Regions from separate parts of the Homo sapiens genome. Here all the other regions are linked to region 5. The links are contacts of gene promoters, found by promoter capture Hi-C in blood cells and fetal thymus (Javierre and others, 2016). All regions are on one chromosome and are shown on one strand. The core of a region is centred on a gene start or on the middle of the fragment in contact, and the rest is flanking DNA. Distances in the headings are between cores, read along the strand shown. Region 1 overlaps PCDH1 (protocadherin 1). Region 2 has its middle 13 kb from the start of PCDH1. Region 3 has its middle 17 kb from the start of DELE1. Region 4 has its middle 44 kb from the start of PCDH1. Region 5 holds the start of ARAP3 (ArfGAP with RhoGAP domain, ankyrin repeat and PH domain 3).

Evidence for each region. Contacts are between HindIII fragments. The CHiCAGO score rates a contact against its expected background, and 5 or more counts as called.
Region 1: a contact is called between a fragment that was not itself captured here and the fragment with the promoter of ARAP3 in region 5, in 1 of 17 cell types (endothelial precursors). The highest score is 5.2, in endothelial precursors.
Region 2: a contact is called between a fragment that was not itself captured here and the fragment with the promoter of ARAP3 in region 5, in 12 of 17 cell types (total B cells, endothelial precursors, megakaryocytes and 9 more). The highest score is 8.8, in total B cells.
Region 3: a fragment that was not itself captured here is called in contact with the fragment with the promoter of ARAP3 in region 5 in 5 of 17 cell types (fetal thymus, endothelial precursors, megakaryocytes and 2 more); the score reaches 6.5 in fetal thymus.
Region 4: a fragment that was not itself captured here is called in contact with the fragment with the promoter of ARAP3 in region 5 in 1 of 17 cell types (M0 macrophages); the score reaches 5.4 in M0 macrophages.

What each region holds. Positions count from the first base shown.
Region 1 is chr5:141,852,579-141,855,278 of GRCh38, forward strand. PCDH1 (protocadherin 1) reads right to left here. Exons shown (of 5, transcript NM_032420.5): 5 at 512-1,858. The coding sequence ends at 1,464. Among named protein-coding and RNA genes, the nearest start is that of PCDH1, 24 kb to the right of the region's middle. The HindIII fragment of the contact is 3,137 bases long and covers 1-2,700 here.
Region 2 is chr5:141,889,723-141,892,477 of GRCh38, forward strand. No RefSeq gene overlaps it. Among named protein-coding and RNA genes, the nearest start is that of PCDH1, 13 kb to the left of the region's middle. The HindIII fragment of the contact is 205 bases long and covers 1,401-1,605 here.
Region 3 is chr5:141,906,018-141,908,717 of GRCh38, forward strand. No RefSeq gene overlaps it. Among named protein-coding and RNA genes, the nearest start is that of DELE1, 17 kb to the right of the region's middle. The HindIII fragment of the contact is 3,655 bases long and covers 1-2,700 here.
Region 4 is chr5:141,833,040-141,835,832 of GRCh38, forward strand. No RefSeq gene overlaps it. Among named protein-coding and RNA genes, the nearest start is that of PCDH1, 44 kb to the right of the region's middle. The HindIII fragment of the contact is 4,346 bases long and covers 1-2,793 here.
Region 5 is chr5:141,680,900-141,683,740 of GRCh38, forward strand. It overlaps ARAP3 (ArfGAP with RhoGAP domain, ankyrin repeat and PH domain 3), which reads right to left and starts at 1,331. Exons shown (of 33, transcript NM_022481.6): 1 at 1,274-1,331. RefSeq lists a silencer at 1,331-1,380. The HindIII fragment of the contact is 6,366 bases long and covers 730-2,841 here.

The DNA of each region.
Region 1 (2,700 bases), core at 194-2,693, 170 kb after region 5:
TTGAGATGGCCACAGTGGGAGACGGGGGCTCTGCAGGACGCCCCTTACACCCTGGCCCCCTGAGGTGAAGAAGAGAACTTCACCTCATCATGGCTGACTGGGCTTCTCTGCCCCCCAACCTCCCTACCCCCTCCCCCATGGGACCCCTGACCCTGACAAAGGGAAGCCCAACTGGAAGAAGGGGGCCTGGAGCCCAGGGTGCCCTGAGGCAGCCCTCCCACCCCCTGAGATCAAGGCAATGGTGGTTTTACAGGCTGACGGGTCAGTCATGGCAGGGGCTGGGGGTTGAGAGGGCAGGGAGGGGGCAGGATGCAGGCCCCCTATATCGGGAGCAGCACCCAGCCACCCCCTGAGCAAACCTTCCTGCTCCCAACTCACCCAACCAGGCCAGAGGCACAGTCATCCCACCCCTGTCCAGCTGCCCCCCACAGCCTCAGGGCCCCTCTGTGATGCTCATCTGGATGTGGGAGGCCAGCCTGAGCGGGGATCCCCCCAGGGCACAGCGCAACAGTTCCAAAAAAATAGAGATTTGTATTTTTAAGAAAAATTAAATAAAAGCCCAGCTCTGCTGATAGGCAAATGTTACCCCCGTCCCCACCCCCACCCACCCGTTGTTTCCCTGGCCTGCACCCCCATCCCACCATGGCCCCAGGGGTATTTACAACATGGAACAATAGAGGCCTGGGTTGGGGGGCACTGCGGCAGGGAGGAGGGGGCACAGGGCAGGTCCCCCCCCAGAGGGGTCCCCCAAGACAACACGACATCAACAAGAAAAGTTGCAAATCAGGCAGAAATGGGGACGTCATTCCAAGGTCCTTATATACAGACACTGCATGACCAGCAGGGAATGGGGGCCCAGATGGGACTAGGCGTGGGCATGTGGCAGGCAGGTGGGCCAGTCCAGGAGCAGCACGGGAAAACAAGGCCTCCGCTCCACTCCCACCCCCGTCCCTACCCCACCTTTGGTAACAAAAGCCCTTCAGGGAGCCACTGGTGGTCAAGAGTTTCCTCTGGGAGCTCCCAGGGAAAGGGGCTCCCCAGTTCAGCCCTGCTTCAGGGCTAAAATTGGGCATGCTATCCCCGCCCTGGTCGGCCATGAGGGAAACAATGAGTTAGAAGTACGCTGCCCACCCTTGACTCCACCATCTGCCCAAATCGAGGGGGTGCTCCCTGGAAGTCAAGGGAAGGAGCCCAGTCATTGCAGAGGAGCCCTCTTGGGCATCAGATGGGGGAAGCCCCATAAAGGGGAAGGGGCCCCTGGGGGCTGGGAGATGGAAATGAGGGGAGAGGACCTGGACCCTGCATGGGAGAAGGGCCAGCGTGGTCATGAGGTCAGTGATACCCCCACTTGGGGCCCTGGCCAGGAAGTCCACGCTGAAGGGGTGGAGAGTGAGGCCCTGGAATGGGCCATTTGGGAGCTGGCCGGCGGCTGGGGGAGGGGGGCCGGCCGGCCAGTAGGGGGCTCACAGGTAGATCTCGCGCTTGGCCGTCTGGGCAGATGCCGGTGTGGCTGCGGGTGGGAAGTCCGAGGTCTGGGTCAGGGGGATTTCCTCCAAGGTGGCCGAGTCCTTGCAGGAATCATGGCTACTGTGGGAGAAGGCACTGTAGGAGGGCAGGAGGCGCACGGGGGCCGTTTTGGTGTTCCGGTCTTCCGGGGGGCTGGGGCTGCCGGCGCCCGCAGGCTCCTGCCCTCCTCGGTCCTGGTAAGGCACGAAGGTGGAGAGTTTGAGGGCGCTGCTCTTGGTCCGGCGGCTGGGAGATGACTGGCCAGGCATCCAGCATGTGTCAGAGTGGCCAAACTCACTGCACTCCCGGGTACATGTGCCTGTCATGGCGACATCAGGCAAAGGGCGAAGGTCTGTAGGAGGGAGCGGGGAAGGACAATTGTCAGACATACAGCCTCTGCAAAGCTCTGCTTCATGGCCTCCCACTGGCATCTACACCCCACCTCAGGACAGGAGTATGCGCCCCTTCCTGACCGCTGAACTCACAGGCACACACACCCTCAAAGAGACACATGCCCTCCCACCATCGACCTACTGGCCTACTGTACACACGCACACGCACACACACATAATCTATCTTTTTTCTTTTTCTTTTTCTTTGTTTTGAGATGGAGTCTTGCTCTTGTCACCCAGGCTGGAGTGCAATGGCGCAATCTCGGCTTACTGCAACCTCCACCTCCCGGGTTCAAGCAATTCTTTTGCCTCAGCCTCCCGAGTAGCTGGGATTACAGGCGCCCACCACCATATCTGGTTAATTTTTGGATTTTTAGTAGAGATGGGGTTTCACCAGGTTGACCAGGCTGGTCTTGAACTCCTGACCTCAGGTGATCCACCCACCTTGACCTCCCAAAGTGTTGGGATTACAAGCATGAGCCACCGCACCCAGCCTTATCCTTTTTTTTTTCAAGACAGGGTCTCACTCCTGTCACCCAGGCTGGAGTGCAGTGGTGTGATCTTGGCTCACTGCAGCCTCAATTTCCCAGGCTCAGGCAATCCTCCCACCTCAGACTCCCAAATATCTGTGACTATAGGCATGCACTACCATGCCTGGCTAATTTTTTATATTTTTTTGTAGAGATGGGGTTTAAGCCATGTTGCCCAGGCTGGTCTTGAACTCCTGAGTTCAAGCAATCCGCCTGCCTCAGCCTCCCAGAGTGTTGGAATTACAGGCATGAGCCACCAAGCCCTAAATAGA
Region 2 (2,755 bases), core at 253-2,752, 210 kb after region 5:
CTTTCCCACAAATATTGGTAAAAAACTTTAGACAACTGAGAAGGTAATCTTAACTTGTTATACCTGCCAAAAACACAATTTAGATCTAGCCGTTTATTTTATAAATTAGTGTGTTTTGAATTATTGTACCTGGCACATGGCTAACATGTTAAAAGCTGTAAGATCGGCTGGGCACAGTGGCTCACACCTGTAATCTCAGCACTTTGGGAGGCCGAGGTGGGCGGATCACGAGGTCAAGAGATCGAGACCATCCTGGCCAACATGGTGAAACCCTGTCTCTACTAAAAATACAAAAATTAGCTGGGTGTGGTGGCATGCGCCTGTAGTCCCAGCTACTCGGGAGGCTGAGGCAGGAGAATCGCTTGAACCAGGGAGGTAGAGGTTGCAGTGAGCCGAGATTGTGCCACTGCACTCCAGCCTTGTGACAGAGCGAGACTTCGTCTCAAAAAAAAAAAAAAACCTGTAAGATCTTTGCCATCTGTCCATATGTTTACATATGTATATGTATTTGTATGTTATGCATAGCTGGTATTTTTCCTACCTCTGGATAGTATTATCACATTTATTTATAAAATTCCTTAAAGGAATTCTACTCAAATTGGTCTGGAAATAAATGAGTGCTTGTATAAAGTATTCCTAAAACTCTCAGAAATGTAGAGTCTAAGCCAGGTGTAGTGGCATGATCCTGCAGTCTCAACTACTTCAGAAGCTGAGGCAGGAGAATCTCTTGGAGAATTCCTTGAGTCCAGTAGTTCAAGACCAGCCTGGGCAACATAGTGGCCTCATCTCTCTCTCTGTCTCTGAAAAAAAAGAAAGAAACAGAAACTAACCCCAAGCTTTTTTGAGTTTAGATGACTTGGGTAAATTTTCTTCCTTCCTTCCTTCCTTCCTTCCTTCCTTCCTTCCTTCCTTCCTTCCTTCCTCTCTCTCTTTCTCTTTCTTTCTTTCTTTCTTTTTTCCTTTCTTTCTTTTTTTTTTTTTTTGACAGAGTTTCACTCTTGCTGCCTAGGCTGGAGTGCAATGGCACTATCTCAGCTCACTGCAACCTCTGCCTCCCGGGTTCAAGCGACTCTCCTGCCTCAGCCTCCCAAGTAGCTGGAATTATAGGTGCCTGCTACCAAGCCCAGCTAATTTTTTGTATTTGTAGTAGAGACATGGTTTCACTATGTTGGCCAGGCTGGTCTTGAACTCTTGACCTCGCGATCTGCCCGCTTCAGCCTCCCAAAGTGCTGGGATTACAGGCGTGAGCCACCACGCCTCGCCAACTTGGGTAAATTTTCAAGAAATAAGATTAGTTTTTAAATTGTTCGTAAAAGAAAATCAGAAACGTCTTCAGAATTGTTAGCATTAAATATAATGCAGGCATACATTTTTTTCCACTTGGGTTTACTAGTCAAACAAGCTTATATTATCTCCACTTATATATTTAACTTTTAGTTTCTTTGCTTCTGTGGTATTTTTGATACTTGCCTAATTTGTCAACAAGAAAAATAACTTAAGATGGTGGCTAGCTTTGTTTAATGTCTCATGAAATTTTCATGAGTAATTTAATTCAAGCATAATTGTTAAGAACAAGTGAATTAAATGAGATATAAGTGGGATAAAAGCTTATAAATAATCTTTTCCAACAACAATTACGTTTTATAAAACATTTCCAGTTAAAAATAATTCCAAAATTTTTTTGGCAACTTCAAGCTTAAAGTTATACTAAATTAAAATGAGTAACAAACATTTATCAAATGGGTCATTTCTATGTAAGATATAATGCTGAAACATTAATCACTGAACATGAGTTTATCTACTTTTGCTTCTTATTTCAGAAGAACGAAATATATTTGGGTCTCAGTAAAAATGTTCTGTGCCACATTGAAAAATTGTATTATGGAGATGCATGTATTTCTAGAAATTATGAAATGGTGTTAATCTACAGAATGTTGGTATGTGACAGTTCACAATTGCTTACTTCTTAGTTTTCACTAGAAATTAAGGATACTAAAATTTAAAATTCAAATTAATATATGGAATTAAAACTATTAGAAATTATAAGTGTAACAACTCTGTATGCAAATAATGCAAGGAAAATAAGATACATTGTTGGTAAGGAAAATTATAAGGCATGAGGATGTGTTTTTCTGTTAGGGGAAAAACGAGTAATTAATTCTGCCATAAAGTAGAATGACTGATCTTCCCAGAATGAGAAAGAGAAAAATGTAGGGAAAGAAATGTTGATGGATATATATATATATTTTTTGTTTGTTTTTGAGATGGAGTCTCACTCCGTCATCCAGGCTGTAGTGCAGTGGCATGATCTCAGCTCACTGCAACCTCCGCCTCCCGGGTACAAGCGATTCTTCTGCCTCAGCCTCCCAAGTAGCTGGGACTACAGGTGTGTGCCACCACACCCGGCTCATTTTGTATTTTTTTAGTAGAGATGGGGTTTCACCATGTTGGCCAGGTTGGTCTCAAACGCCTGACCTTGTGATCTACCCGCCTCAGCCTCCCAAAGTGCTGGGATTACAGGCATGAGCCACCACGGCCGGCTTGATGGATATTTTTAAATGGTTGTAATGGGTTTGAGGAAGGAAATCTTAGGAAAGGAGTCTTATCTGGTATGATCAAAGCTATCTGAGACGGGATAGATTTATTCAGAAGACATTTTTAAAATTAGCCTTAGCATTAATAGTACACTGATGCAAAACTAGAATTTGGTCTCCTCTGTCAAAGACAAAGTTTTGGCTGGGTGCAGTGGCTCACG
Region 3 (2,700 bases), core at 200-2,699, 230 kb after region 5:
ACTTATATGAAGTACCTAGAGTAGTCCAACTCATAGAGACAGAAAGTAGAATGGTGGTTATCAGGTTCCAGGGGTAGGAGGAAAAGGGGGGTTGTTTAATGGGTATAGTTTCAGTTTTGCAAGATGAAAAAGTTCTGGGTATTGACTGCATAAAAATGTGAATGTACTTAACTGTACATTTAGAAATGGTTAAAGTGGTAAAATTTATGTTGTGTGTATTTTACTCACAATCAAAACTTATTTTTTTTAAAAAAAGCAGATTCCTTGGCTTTACCTTCAGAGCTTTTGACTCAATGCAGAAATGGAAAAGCCAATCCTTAAATTCAAATGGAATTGCAGCGGACCCCAAATAGCCAAAGCAATCTTGAAAAAGAAGAACAAAGCTGGAAGACTTACACTTCCTGATTTCAAAACGTATTACAAAGCTACAGTAATCAAAATAGTGTGATAGTAGCATAAAGGATAGAGAGATATATATCAACGAAATAGAATTGAGAGTCCAAAAATATACTAATACAGCTATGGGGTCAATTGATTTTTGACAAGGGTGCCAAGAGCATTCAATGGGCAAAAAATAGTGTCTTCAACAAATAGTGCTGGGACAACTGGATATCCACATACAAAAAAGGAAGAAGAAGGAGAAGGAGGAGAAGAAGAAGAGGAAGGAAGAGGAGGAGGAGGAAGAGAAAGAAGGAGGAAGAAGAAGGAAGAAGAAGGAGAAAGAAAGAAGAACAAAGAAGAAAGTTGGACCCCTTACCTCGTACCATATACAAATATTAACTCACTAAGGAGCTTCTGGATAGCTGAACACATGAAGATACTTGGAGGGAAGGTGGCATGCCTAGAGATGTATGAAAGCTCTATGCCCCTTCCCACATGGCTTGACCTATCCATCTCTCCATCTGGCTGTTCATCTTTAAAATACCCCTTATGATAAATGGGTAAATGCTACATGTTCACTTGGCATCCTAGGTCAGGCATTTGGTCTCCACCAGAGCCCAGGAACAAGCCCAGGAGCTGTATATTTTATTTTTTCAAAGTGTGAATGAGTTATTTGTGTAAAAAGACATAGCTGCAATACAAAACTCTAGGAGTCTACGTCATGATTCCTCTATCAGGGATTCCCAGATGGTTCACCAGCATTCCTATCTGCAATAGACATTTGGAGCACTGTTGAATCTGCTGGGTCATAAGGCCCAAGCAGGAAAGCAGCTTATATCATACCTGCAATAGCTTCAGAAACTTTTCTTGCTCTGGTCCTGTATTAGCTTTCTATTGCTATGTAACAAATTACCACAAACTTAGTGGCCTAAAACAAAAACAAAAAACAAACAAAAATTTTGAACTCATTATGTATCAAATACCTAAATGTAAGAGCAAAAAGTGTAAAACCTTTAGGAGAAAACATAAGGGTAAATATTCATGACTTTGGATTTGGCAATGGTTTCTTTTTTTTTTTTTTTTTTTTTTGAGAGCGGTCTTGCTTTCATCCCCCAGGCTTGAGTGCAATGGCTCAATCTCGGCTCACTGCAACATCCGCCTCCCGGGTTCAAACGATTCTCCTGCCTCTGCCTCCCAAGTAGCTGGGAGCAAAGTGCCGGCCATCACGCCCGGCTAATTTTTATATTTTTTAGTAGAGACAGGGTTCCACCATGTTGGCCAGGCTGGTCTCGAACTCCTGACCTTAGGTGATCTGCCCGCCTCAGCCTCCCAAAGTGCTGGGATTACAGGCATGAGACACCACGCTCGGCCTGGCAATGGTTTCTTAAACATGATATCAAAACCACATGCAACAAAAAGTAAGTATGGATACACTGGACTTCAGCAAAATTAAAAACTTTCATGCATCAGAGAACATCTTCAAGAAAGTGAAAAGACACTTTTCATTTCATTTGTCAATTTGCAAATCACATATCCAATAAACTTCTAGTATCCAGAATATATAAAGGACTCATAATTTGATAACAAAAAGACAATCCTTTTTTTCTGAGACAAGGTCTCACTCTGTCACCCAGGCTAGAGTACAGTGGAAAGATCACAGTTCATTGCAGCCTCAACCTTCCTGGGGCTCAAGTGATCCTCCCACCTGAGCCTCCTGAGTAGCTGGGACTACAGGTGCCACCATGCCAGGCTAATTTTTTGTATTTTTTCGTAGAGATGGGGTTTTGCCATGTTGCCCCAGCTGGTCTCAAACTCTTGGGCTCAAGTGATCCACACTCTTTGGCCTCCCAAAGTGCTGGGATTGCAGGTGTGAGCACCCTGCCTGGCCTAGATAACTCAATTTTTTAAATGAGCAAAGGACTTGAATAGACATTTCTCTAAAGAAGACATATAAATGGCCAAAAAGTACATGAAAAGATGCTCAACATCATTAGTCATTACGGAAATGCAAATCAAAACTACAATGAGATACCACTTTATACCCACTGTGATGGCTATAATTAAGGAAAAGAACAAGTATTGGCAAGAATGTGGGGACACTGAAACCCTTGGGCCTTCCTGATGGGAACATAAAATGGTACAGCCACTGTGGAAAACAGTTGGTGGTTCCTTAAAATGTTAAACATAGAATTGCCGTATGACCCAGCAGTTTCATTCGTAGGGGTATACCCAAGAGACTTGAAAGTAGGTACTCAAATACTTGTATATAAATATTCACAGTAGCAATATTCACAATAGCCAAAAGATGGAAACAACCCA
Region 4 (2,793 bases), core at 56-2,555, 150 kb after region 5:
GAAACTATCAGGAGTTGCCATAATAAGATGGACTTAACCATGCTTCACGAGTGTAAAAGCATCCACTAGTTATTGATCAGAAGAGTTTGGTAGAGTCAGGCAGGTGCTGGCTAGCAGCCAATTAGAGGCTTAAAGCAAAGCCCAACCCAGGTTGCAGGACATGTCTTATCTCCTCAGAACTGCCTGGAGCAGTTTTAGAGTTTCAGGAAATGCTACCAACTTTATCAGATGGGCATGTGCACTGGTGGGGCATGCACAAGGGCCAACCAGCCAAGAGCGGAATGACCAGAAGAAAGCCCATGTGGCTGTGCACAGTGGCTCATGCCTGTAATCCTAGCACTTTGGGAGGCTGAGGCAGGAGGATTGCTTGAGTCCAGGAGTTCAAGACCAGCCTGGGCAACATAGCAAGATTCTGTCTTGCTACAAAAATTTTAAAAATTAGCTGGGTGTGGTGGCGCATGCCTGTGGTCCCAGCTATTTGGGAGCCTGAGGCAGGAAGATCTCTTGAGCCTGTGGGGGTGGGGGCGTTCAAGGCTACAGTGAATCATGGTGATGTCACTGCACTCCAGCCTGAGCAACAGAGCAAGACCCTGTCTCAAAAAAAAAAAAAAAAAAGGAAGAAAAGGAAGGAAGGAAAGAAAGAAAGAAAAAAGAAAGGAAAGAAAGAAAAAAGAAAAGAAAGAAAGAAAAATAAGGAGGAGTGAAGGAGGGAGGAAGGGAGGGAGGGAGAAAGGAAGGAAGGAAGGGAGGGAGGGAGGGAAAACAAAGCCCTACATGCTATAGGTCTGGGTTCAAATCCTGGCTCATCTACTTACTGAGACTTTGGTCTCAGTTTTCTCCTCTGTAAAGTGAAGACAAGCAGCACCTAACTCATAAGGTTGTTGAGTATTAAATAAGAATGCATGAGGCTGGGCGCAGTGGCTCACGCCTGTAATCCCAGCACTTTGGGAGGCCAAGGCGGGTGGATCACCTGAGGTTGGGAGTTTGAGACCAGCCTGACCAACATGGAGAAACCCCATCTCTACTAAAAATACAAAATTAGCCGGGCGTGGTGGCACACGCCTGTAATCCCAGCTACTCGGGAGGCTAAGGCAAGAGAATCACTTGAAGGTGGAGCTTGCAGTGAGCCGAGATTGTGCCATTGCATTCCAGCCTGGGTGACAGAATGAGACTCCATCTCAAAAAAAAAAAAGAATGCATGTAAAGGGCTTGGCACAGTGTCAGGCTTGTGGCTGATAATAAATGGTAGCCGGTAATGTTAGCATTAGTATTCTCATGGGCAACATGTCTAAGGGGTCCCTTGAGTGACCCCTACTACACTCAACATATATACATAAACTTTAATGGTGGGATCCTCCAGGCACACCACCTAATTTGCATGTGATAAATTTTGTCTAAACCAAAAAAGGCTGTAATTCAAAATATATGCTCTTGAGTGGGATTGCTCATGTATAGGAAGAGCTGGACAGCTCCTGTGGGCCTAAGAGGAAGAACTGATTCTTCCCTAGGATGCAAAAGCCAGGTGTGGGGGAACAGCAGAAGTGCTGGGCTGACAAAGGCTCGGAAGAGACCCAAAGATGCTGACAAGAGGGGCAGGTTCTGGTCAGTTCTTTGTCTCCTTGACAATGCTGTGGTTGGGGCCCTGTCCGGGCTGCCTGCCCTGCCCAGCACTCCTTTCCTCCTCCCTGAGAAGGAAATGGAAGAAAACAGGACTTCTGCTGTCTGGAAGTCTGCATGGCTGGGGTTGGCAAGGGCCAATCAGGCCTGTAGGCTGGCAGTCAGGACGCCAGTCAGCTGGGGATGAGGAGCTAGGGATGAGGCTGACGGGGCAACTTCCCAGAGACCCTACAGCTGGCCGCTGCTGCCTTCCTGAGGCTGTGCAGTGGGGTGTGGAAGGAGCCAGGGATCGTCTGACCCCATGTGTCATGCCCGCTGACTCTTCCATGTGGCACAGAAAGAAACCTCAGCTTCCCAGTAGACTTCTATCCCCAGGACATGAGTGGTGCCCACCTGAGCCTGAGACCACAGTTGCTTTTCAGATGTCTCTCAGCAGGGTTCCACATCGTCATGCCCTGGCACAAGCACAGAGGTTAAGGGGAACCTGGCACAGAGGTTAGGCTGTGGAGTCAAGCAGACCTGAGTTCAAGTCTCAGCTTTGCCATTTACTGGTGTGACCTAGGGCCAGCTCTGTGAGCGATCCAGGCCTCAGTTTCCTTACCCAGAAGTTAGGGATGATAAAAGGAAGTTCCTTACAGGACCAAGTGAGAATGATGCATGTGAAGTATTTGGCCCAGGTCTGGCGCATAGTAAGTGCTTGAAAAATGTTAGCCATAGTTCTTCTAATTAATTATTACTATAATTTGTGAGGTCTCCAAATGTACTATGATTGAGCAGTTACATAAATTCCAGCCAGAAGTCCATATGGCCCAGTATGGGAATGACTGTCTCCAAAGTCCAGGGTGATTTGATCCTAGTCTTTCTGTCACACTGAGGATGTGGCGCAGGTCAGGGCTGGAGTCCCTTTAGACCACTGGAGAGCCTCCCTTTCCGTGGAAACCCATGGGGAATCTTAGATGATATAGCTCCTGGATTCCCTTTGCCCTCAGGCCTGGCCAGGGTGCGGAAGGAGGCAATGGGGATGGGGAATATATGCCTCTGAACAGCTGTGCCTGAAGTGGCCCGCTTCCACATCCCTGGGACCAGGACGCCCTCCAAGGGAAAGGACCCAAAGCTGCCTGGATTTCCAAAGATTTTGGTCCAGACTCTAGATGGTCAGGGCTGGTGGCTTGGGGA
Region 5 (2,841 bases), core at 81-2,580:
AGGAGGGGCCAATGATGTGGCCAATCAGCTCTGGAGTAAGGTAGGGAGAGGGGCAGCCTAGATAGGAGGAAGGAGGTGCAGACGCCCCCTCCCTCTTGTTTCCAGAGCCGATGTATGCAGGCCTGCCGTCCTAATCCTGGTTGTTCCCAGTCCCTCCTCCCCTTCCACCTATTGTCTCTGCTCAGACTTCCTTCCTGTCCCTCCAGCCCTGGCCGCCTCCACATCCTGCCTGCTTTGGTCAGGCTGCCGGGAGAGCCCTAACCAGTCCTAATGTGTGGGGTCCCGGCCCTGGGTGGAGGCTAATTGAAGAATAAGGATGGGGATGCCAGAGAGATGAGGCCTGACCTCTGGTCAGGGGTACTCCAGAGGCTTCTGGACTCTCTGCCCACCGGCAGCATGTTCACATGCTGTTCACCTGTGTGTGCACATGCCCTGTAGCGATTTGGCAGTGTGAAATGCCATCCCCCCACCTCTGCTTTCTCCAAGCCTTCCTTTTCTGAGCTTGCCTTTTCCCTGCTCATTCCCTTGGGCTCAGGTCTCTGTGCTCTGTCCCCCTTCCACCAGCCTGACCCCGACCCTGACCCTGGTCTATTTCATAGACCTGTCTCTAATTCTGTGGCCCCTGAGTTTTATCTCTGCCTTGTCACTGTCCCTGCCCCATTCCATCTCAACCTCTCAATTCTTCTTTGTCCCTCTCCTTGTCCCACCCTGTTTTGCTCTCTGTTATTAAGCTTGTCCTTGACTCAGTCTACAATTCTAACCAGATCTTGAGTTGTATCTGTGTCTCTGTCTGCCTCTGAGCCTGGGTTTCTGTCTTCCGCCTCGGCCTAGGCTCTCTCCCTGTTACTCTTGTGCTCTGTCGGTGACCAGGACGCCCTCTCCGTCCCAGCATCACTGCTGGCCTCCCTCTGCCTCTCTCCAGCTGGGCCTCATTCCCAAGCCAGGGCCCGCGTGCTGAGCCTCGGGCCCTGACTCAGGGCCCGGTTTCCCGGTGACTCAGGCCGGGCTCGACAGCACGGGGCTGGGAGCTGAGGTGCTCGCGGGACAGGAGTGGCGGGGGCGGGGCGGGCAGTGGCGGGCAGCGCAGGCTGCGACGAGGGAGGGGGCGAGGAGGGATGGGGCAGAGGCCGGGCAGCAGGAGGGAGGGGCGGGTCGTGGCAGGGATGGGGAGGGCCGCCGGCGCCGAGGGGGCCTGGGAGCCCACGAAGGCCCTCGAGAAGGTGATGGGGAGGAGTCTGGGAAGCAGGGACCCGGGGGGCGCGGGGGTCCTCACCTCACTACGCGGCCGCCGTCCGCTCGCGGGTGCCCGCCGCTCGTCCGAGGTTCTGGGTCCCGCCGCGCCGGCCCCGCCTCCCCTCTGCCCTCCCTCGACGGGCCCAGCCCCGCCCCGCCCGGCCGGTTCCCTCCGCGGGGCCCCGGCCACTCCTTGTGCAAGCGCAGGCCTCCAAAGGGTTTGGGCTTCTTGCCCAACCGCCGCGCTTATCTCCGAGTCTGCCCCCAGTCTGCCCTCTCGCAGGCCGAGAAAGGACCAGAACACGTTGGGACGAAGACAACCTCAGGGAGAGGGACAAAGAGGCAGAGACCGGGACGGAGACTGGGACGGAGGTAGAAACTGAGAAAGGGAGAGTGCCAGGGACGGCTTTGCATCCTCTCCGCTGCTCCCATGCCCTCCAGTCCTGCCAAAAGGGAGGAGGAAAGGTCGAGCCCTAATCCCCCAGGGCACCTCTCCCACGCCCGGAAGGGTGGCTGGACCCTGGCAACCAGTTTAGTGTGGGGACGGAAGCTGGACATCCAGAATTGAGACTTGGCCTGGGCAACAAGCGCAGAGGCCCAGCAGAGGGGTACCCGTCTGTTTCTCCCCACTTCCATCCCCAAGGGCCCGGCCTAGGTTCCTTCGAGGGATGAAGGTCCGCAAGGCACATCCCTACTTCCAAACCAAGGTTTGGGGCTGCCTTTTTGGGACAGGCGGACGCCCTGCAAGCTCAGTGACCAAGCAAGCAGCTGTTTCATTCATGGGAGAAGCCGCCCCTTCTCCCCAACTCCCACCCTAAAATTTCAGGGGGGATGCCGGGGAGGCCTGAAGAGGAATGGCCCTTCTCTCCTTCGCTAATCTTGCCGGAACCCCGGTCCTGGAGCCTGTCTCCCAGGGGCGGAGGCACTTCCCTCTCTGAGCAGGACCAGTGTTTGGGTGTGGGGGGGGGGTGTTTGTGTGTGTGTGTGTGTGTGTGTGTGTGTGTGTGTGTGTGTGTGTGTGTGTGTATGTGTTGGGGGTGGCGGGGGCGCTGGCCGGCTGTGTTTTCCTGTTTGTATGAGAGGAAGTTGGCTGTGAGTCAGCAGACACAGGAACTGTCAGTAGCTAGGGGAAGACCCCTGCCTCAGGGGAAGAAGAGGGGAGTGGGAGGAAGTGGTTCCCACCTCTTCCAGCTGCCTCAGCTAGGGGAGGGACTGTCATCTTCAACCTACTGGAGCCCCACTTTCCCGGCCTTCCCTTTGAGAAAGAGAATTATAGTAATAAAATAATAATTGCAATAGCCATAATAAGGGCTACCAATTATTGAGAGCTGACCGTGCTCCAGGATCTATGTAAACATTGCTTTGCAAACTTTAATCCTCACAAATATCCCTACAAATAGGAAATTTTATCACCTCTATTTTACATATAAGGAGACAGGGAGCATTAAATAACTTGCTCAAGACTCTGCAGCTAGAAAATAGCCAACCCTCCAAGTCTATATCTATAACTACCATGCTCACCTACCACCCTGGACAGGACCCCTGCACCATGTCCTTTTTTTCAGATGGGCAACTGTGGTGGCAGTGAGAATGCTCCTCACAGATCTT